Linked DNA regions of Homo sapiens: region 2 is linked to region 1. Evidence: promoter capture Hi-C in human tissues and cell types (Jung and others, 2019). All regions are on one chromosome and are shown on one strand. The core of a region is centred on a gene start or on the middle of the fragment in contact, and the rest is flanking DNA. Distances in the headings are between cores, read along the strand shown. Region 1 holds the start of ANTXR1 (ANTXR cell adhesion molecule 1). Region 2 overlaps ANTXR1 (ANTXR cell adhesion molecule 1).

Region 1 (2,677 bases), core at 46-2,545:
GAGTGATCCAAGAGAGAAGGGAAAAACCACAACATCTCTCATGGCCTATCCTCAGAAGCCACACACCATCTTCTTAATTACTCACAGGTCAGTCTCACCCAAGGTGGAAGGGGTGTGAATTCCAGGAGGTGAGAAACACTGGGTTCATTTTGGAGGCAGGTCAGTGCTACGCATGACAAATCTTCAAGGCTGATTTGACAACATGATTATTGGTTAGTGGAGCATTCCAAGACACTAAGATTCCATGGTACACATGTTGGGGGAAACCACCATGGACTGTCACATTGGGGTATAAGGGTCTGGGAGGCACACAAGTGGAGGGGAATATGTGTGTCTGGAGGAAGAATCCTGGGAAAACAGTACATGCATATGCACTGAGGGCTCCCAGAGCGGAAGACAATAGGAAGCTAGAACTGGGGTACCACTCGGAACTGGGGCTCAGAGGCTGATTCTCCAATTTAGAGAGGCTAGCACGGAACTTCCCTGCCAATTCCAAACTGCTTGGAGCGTCTCTACTCTTGTAAGCTGTTTACTTCCTCCATCCTAAATCAAAGATAGAGAGAAAATGTCAAAGTTCACAGGCTGAAAAGAAGAACTATTATCATAGAATCCCTAAAAGATGGAGATGGTGGCCATCTAGAAGGCTCAGCTGTTCCATGCCGGGAGCAGCCCTAAGTACCACACTCTGTGGGGTTGTTTGTGATGGTTTCAGACCGGACCCCAACAGTCTCTTTTATGGTCCAGACAGACTAAGACCATGTAAGGTCACTCTGATGACTCATACCACAAAGGTCCCGTTTTTCCCCTACTTCATCTGCACAATGGTTTGTTTGCAAAGGTCCTAGCCTGGGGAGCCGGAGTCACCGTGGTTGGAGGAAACAAATTCTCATCCAATGTTTAGTGACCTTATCAAAAGATGCAGGATAGGGAAGGAAAAGAAGGAATAGAAGGACTACAGAGAATGGAGAGGCGGTCACGGAAAAAGAAAGGGAAAGTGCGTGGGAAGAAGGAAGGAGTAAGAAAACACGCACAGCTCACATGAGAATGGTAAGGACAAGGAAATTTATACGCGAAGCCTGGAAGCGCCCCCGCCCCCGACGCACTCCCGCGGGTCCCACGCGTGCTTTCGCCGCCTTTGTCCACAAGGTGGCAGCCTTTGAACTTTCTTCCCCGTAAGAACGCGAAAGGGGGGCAGAGAGGAAGGAGAGAAGGCAAAGCACTGCCCCCACCAAGAACAATTTGAAACCCCCCCCCCCCCCCATCATATTTAAAATCTGGGACAAAGAACCGTCGGGACGGAACTCCTTCCATTGCAAAAGCTCGGCGCGGCCTCGGGAGCTGCCCGGCGGCCCCGGACCGAGGCAGCCCTCCCCTTTAAAAGAAGCGGAGGACAGGATTGGGATCCTTGAAACCCGAAACCCAGAAACAGCATCGGAGCGGAAACCAGAGGGGAAACCTTGAACTCCTCCAGACAATTGCTTCCGGGGAGTTGCGAGGGAGCGAGGGGGAATAAAGGACCCGCGAGGAAGGGCCCGCGGATGGCGCGTCCCTGAGGGTCGTGGCGAGTTCGCGGAGCGTGGGAAGGAGCGGACCCTGCTCTCCCCGGGCTGCGGGCCATGGCCACGGCGGAGCGGAGAGCCCTCGGCATCGGCTTCCAGTGGCTCTCTTTGGCCACTCTGGTGCTCATCTGCGCCGGGCAAGGGGGACGCAGGGAGGATGGGGGTCCAGCCTGCTACGGCGGATTTGACCTGTACTTCATTTTGGACAAGTAAGTGCCGCGAGTTGTCCCCCCCACCCCAGGCTAAGCGGGCGAAAACGCTTTCGCCCCGGGCCGGGCTCGTTGGCAGGGTCGCCTGGGGACAGGAGCGCATCTCCAGGGCCACAGAGGGACCGCGCGGCAGGCGGCGGCGGAGTGCTGCGCCTTTGTTGGGGCGCGCTCCTCCCAGCCTCGGCTCCAGAGCCCGCAGCCGAGGCGACGCCGCTTGCTCGGAAGGGGACAGACTTCTTTTCTGTCTTGCTTTCTGTGTCCCAGGAGCAGGCAAGGGGCTTGGAGGATGCTATTGTCTTGCTGAGTTTCTGTGACTCCCTCCCGTGTTGGTGGGAAAGGCTTGCTTACCAAAGGCAGAACTTGCAGGCACAGGCACTCCTAAAGTTAGAGGCTTGGGCATTTTAAAGCCAATCGTCGCATTTTGTTTTTGTTTTTGTTTTTTTGTTTTGTTTTGAAACGCTGTCCCACGGAAGGCATTATCTTTGCTCCTAATCATGTAATGCATACTTCTCACCGGGCACTGAGTGAGAATGAAAGGCAGGGTTTCTTAACCTTGGCACTTCTGAGATTGAAACCTGGTAATTCTTTGTGGTGGGGGCTGTCCTGCGCGTTGTAGGATGTTTAGCAGCATCCTTGGCCTCTGCCCACTGGATGCCAGTAACATCCCCCGCCCCCCACTCCTTCCTTATTAGTGGTGACAACTAAAAATGCCTCCAGACATTGCCAAATGTCCCTCCCCTTCGACTTGAGTACCCCAGATGTAGTGAATTCAAGCTCTTGGCCATTTGACTGGTGGGCTACCAGGGAGGTGCAGGAGCCCTGGTTTCCTTGCAAAAAGTGGTTAGGCTTTAGGATTTGCTCAAGGGAGAGCTGAATTCTGACCAATGAAGCACTTCCCAAATCCGCATA
Region 2 (2,677 bases), core at 51-2,550, 160 kb after region 1:
AACTTTCTGCCCAGAAATCAAGGGAGGAAATTACATTGCTGTGCAAAGAAGAAGAAAAAACCTTCTTTACATACATTAAAACCTTTCCTTAATCCTTCAAGAGAAAGTACCGTGGCTAGTTCCACGACTGCAATTGGCTTTGCTTCTGTTATGTGCAGCTATCTCTTAGACTTCCAAAACATAAAAAATAAAATAGAGCAAGGAGCTCCCTTATTAGGACTTTGTTTGCCTGGAGGCAAATAACATTCCCTCCCTTGTTGTGTTCAGTTAGAAGGGTTGTGGCTTTTTCTTTTGGCTCTTGCTCTGTATTTGCCTTTAGAAGGTGACGTGGCAGCCATAGTGGCCAAAGTGCACCTGGGGATGTAGGTTAAGACTGGGCTCTGACTTACCCCAGATCCAACATCTAGCCTAGGGTTGCACACACAGTACAAGCTCAGCAGGGACTTTTAGGATGAAGGACCCAGCAACACAATTTTGGAGCCAAGTAAAAAAGCCCAAACTAGAAAACCATCTAGGAAGGATAGCTAAAAGCAAGGAAGAGAAGTAGTTGAGTTTTTTCTGTTTCATAAAAGTTGTAGTTACACCCAAAGAAAGCTGACTTCATTTCCCAAACAGAATGACAACCTCAGAATGCTTGAATCTAAAGGGTTATGTTAGGCTTAAAGGAGTTTTTGGGCTGAAGCTTCCTCACCTGTCCCCTGTCACTCTATCAAAGGGATAACTCACGTGAACACCTGCAGTTGATTATACTTGGTCAGACGTGAGCTGGACAGATGACTAGTACATTTCATTGGCTGATGAAAAACAAAACATTCCCTTCCTGGAGTCTAGATCCCCTCCCCTCCATTTCCCTTTGAAACCCTCTGACTTAATCAATTAAATATGACGTCAGAAATAAATCAAGAAACTACCCAAACTGGAGACCTAGGCAATAAAAATTTAAACATTGTACTTTTTAGCATCAGGCGCTTTTTGGCATGTGCTGATTGCCTTAGCGTGTGTGTTGGCCCTGTGAGTTAGGCCACCTAATCTCCTTCCTAATGTATTTTGGCAGGAAAATAAAATAAAATAACAAGAAGAAGAAAGAAAGAAATCCCACAGAAACAGATAACCTAACACAGCCCGTGCAACGTATTTTATACAATGCTCTGAAAATCATAGTCTCAATCTAGACAGTCTTTTCCTCTAGTTCCCTGTATTCAAATCCCAGTGTCTAACATTCAATAAATAGCTATATGAAATCAAACACTCTCTGCCGTATATATGAAGACCTTCAGTATTATTTATCCCAACTTTCATCAGCTCTATCAACATCATATTCTGAGAGAGGCATGTCTACTATTTAAATAACTAAACTTAGAGAATGAAGATAACTTTATAATAAGCTCTCAGTGACCTTTTTAATAGAAAATATAAAAATTCAGAATGGAAAAAGGAACTATATGCTGAGATTCTATGTAACCAACGGTGACACACTTGTATGAAGAGGGTACAAAGAGAAATTACTTGAAACTTGAAGAGCTCAATAGAAGCAAGGAAGCTCAGTTTTAACAACTAAGAGGGACATTTCCTGGGTTAAGAATCTTCTCAAGTGGCACCAGTGGGGATCCCTCCCTAACTCTCCAGTTACTCCAAATAACTGGCAGTTCGTGGGAGAATGCAGTAATGGAGCACTTCATGTGACGGTTTTGTTCTGCATGTAATCACCTTCCATGGATTTTATGACCATATTTGAGTTTTTATCAGCCTCATTCGCCTGCAAAAAACAGAGACCAGTTCAAGCTAGTCCAAGATGAAAGAACTCAGGTAGACTGTGGCTGGGGAAAGAACTGAGGCAGCTCTAGACACCACCCTCATGGGCTTTCGATTTCACTGCTAGCAGCTCTGCTTCTCTCTGGGAATTTATTCCCTTCTGCCTTCTCTTACTGGCCGCCTCTCTGCCCTTGTAACTCTGGTTTGTACAGAGCCCTCTCTCCTGACTCCATCTGATATTTCTAGTCTTCATTTCACCATCTGCCCCCAGTGCTTATAGCTGAGTCTCTCAGTTTCCATCTTTCAGTTCCCAATAGGGGAAAATACTTGGTCCAGCTCATCTTTTCACTCCAGACCATAGATCATCAGTCACAGCTCACAGCCAACCAACAGACTGGTGCTCTTGGGTCACATCTGGCCAAAGAGAAGCTTCCTAGTAAGCCCCGTGGCCATGGTGAGAATAGCTCCCCTCAGAAGGAGGAATGGACCTGGTGCAGGCCCTGTGGCCTCTCTGAAATAGTATTGTTTCAGAAACTAAACTTCGGTCTCATTAAATACTATCAAAATAAAAGCTACACCCAGGAATCCATACCATATTCTTCCAACATCTGCCACTTTTACAGGCTCTCAAAGATCCTATCGTTCCCAATATCAAGCATATTTGAAAGGCAATAGATAGCAGGAAGCCCCATGACTGAATGGAAAGTGGGTTATGGCTTAGCCCCAAGCAGCTCCATGTCTCAGACACACACAGACCTACATATGAAGTAAATGTACTGGAAAGAGAAGATGCTTCCTTTCCCATGTCCTGTCTCACTCTATCAAAGGCATAGCTCTGGAAACACCTGCCATTTTCTTCCTTAATCACACTGCCTTGGCCAGACCTGGGCTGGACAGATGACTAGTACATTTTATTTGCAATGAA

What was found. The method cuts DNA at HindIII sites, captures the fragments that hold promoters and counts their contacts. A contact is called where the count stands out against the background at its distance.
Region 2: a fragment that was not itself captured here is called in contact with the fragment with the promoter of ANTXR1 in region 1 in 3 of the 25 tissues and cell types used here (H1 embryonic stem cells, adrenal gland and aorta).

The regions. Positions count from the first base shown.
Region 1 is chr2:69,011,884-69,014,560 of GRCh38, forward strand. ANTXR1 (ANTXR cell adhesion molecule 1) reads left to right here and starts at 1,296. Exons shown (of 18, transcript NM_032208.3): 1 at 1,296-1,768. The coding sequence starts at 1,617. The HindIII fragment of the contact is 10,036 bases long and covers 1-2,677 here.
Region 2 is chr2:69,171,313-69,173,989 of GRCh38, forward strand. The region is part of intron 14 of ANTXR1 (ANTXR cell adhesion molecule 1); the gene reads left to right. Among named protein-coding and RNA genes, the nearest start is that of MIR3126, 69 kb to the left of the region's middle. RefSeq lists an enhancer at 145-439. The HindIII fragment of the contact is 3,578 bases long and covers 1-2,677 here.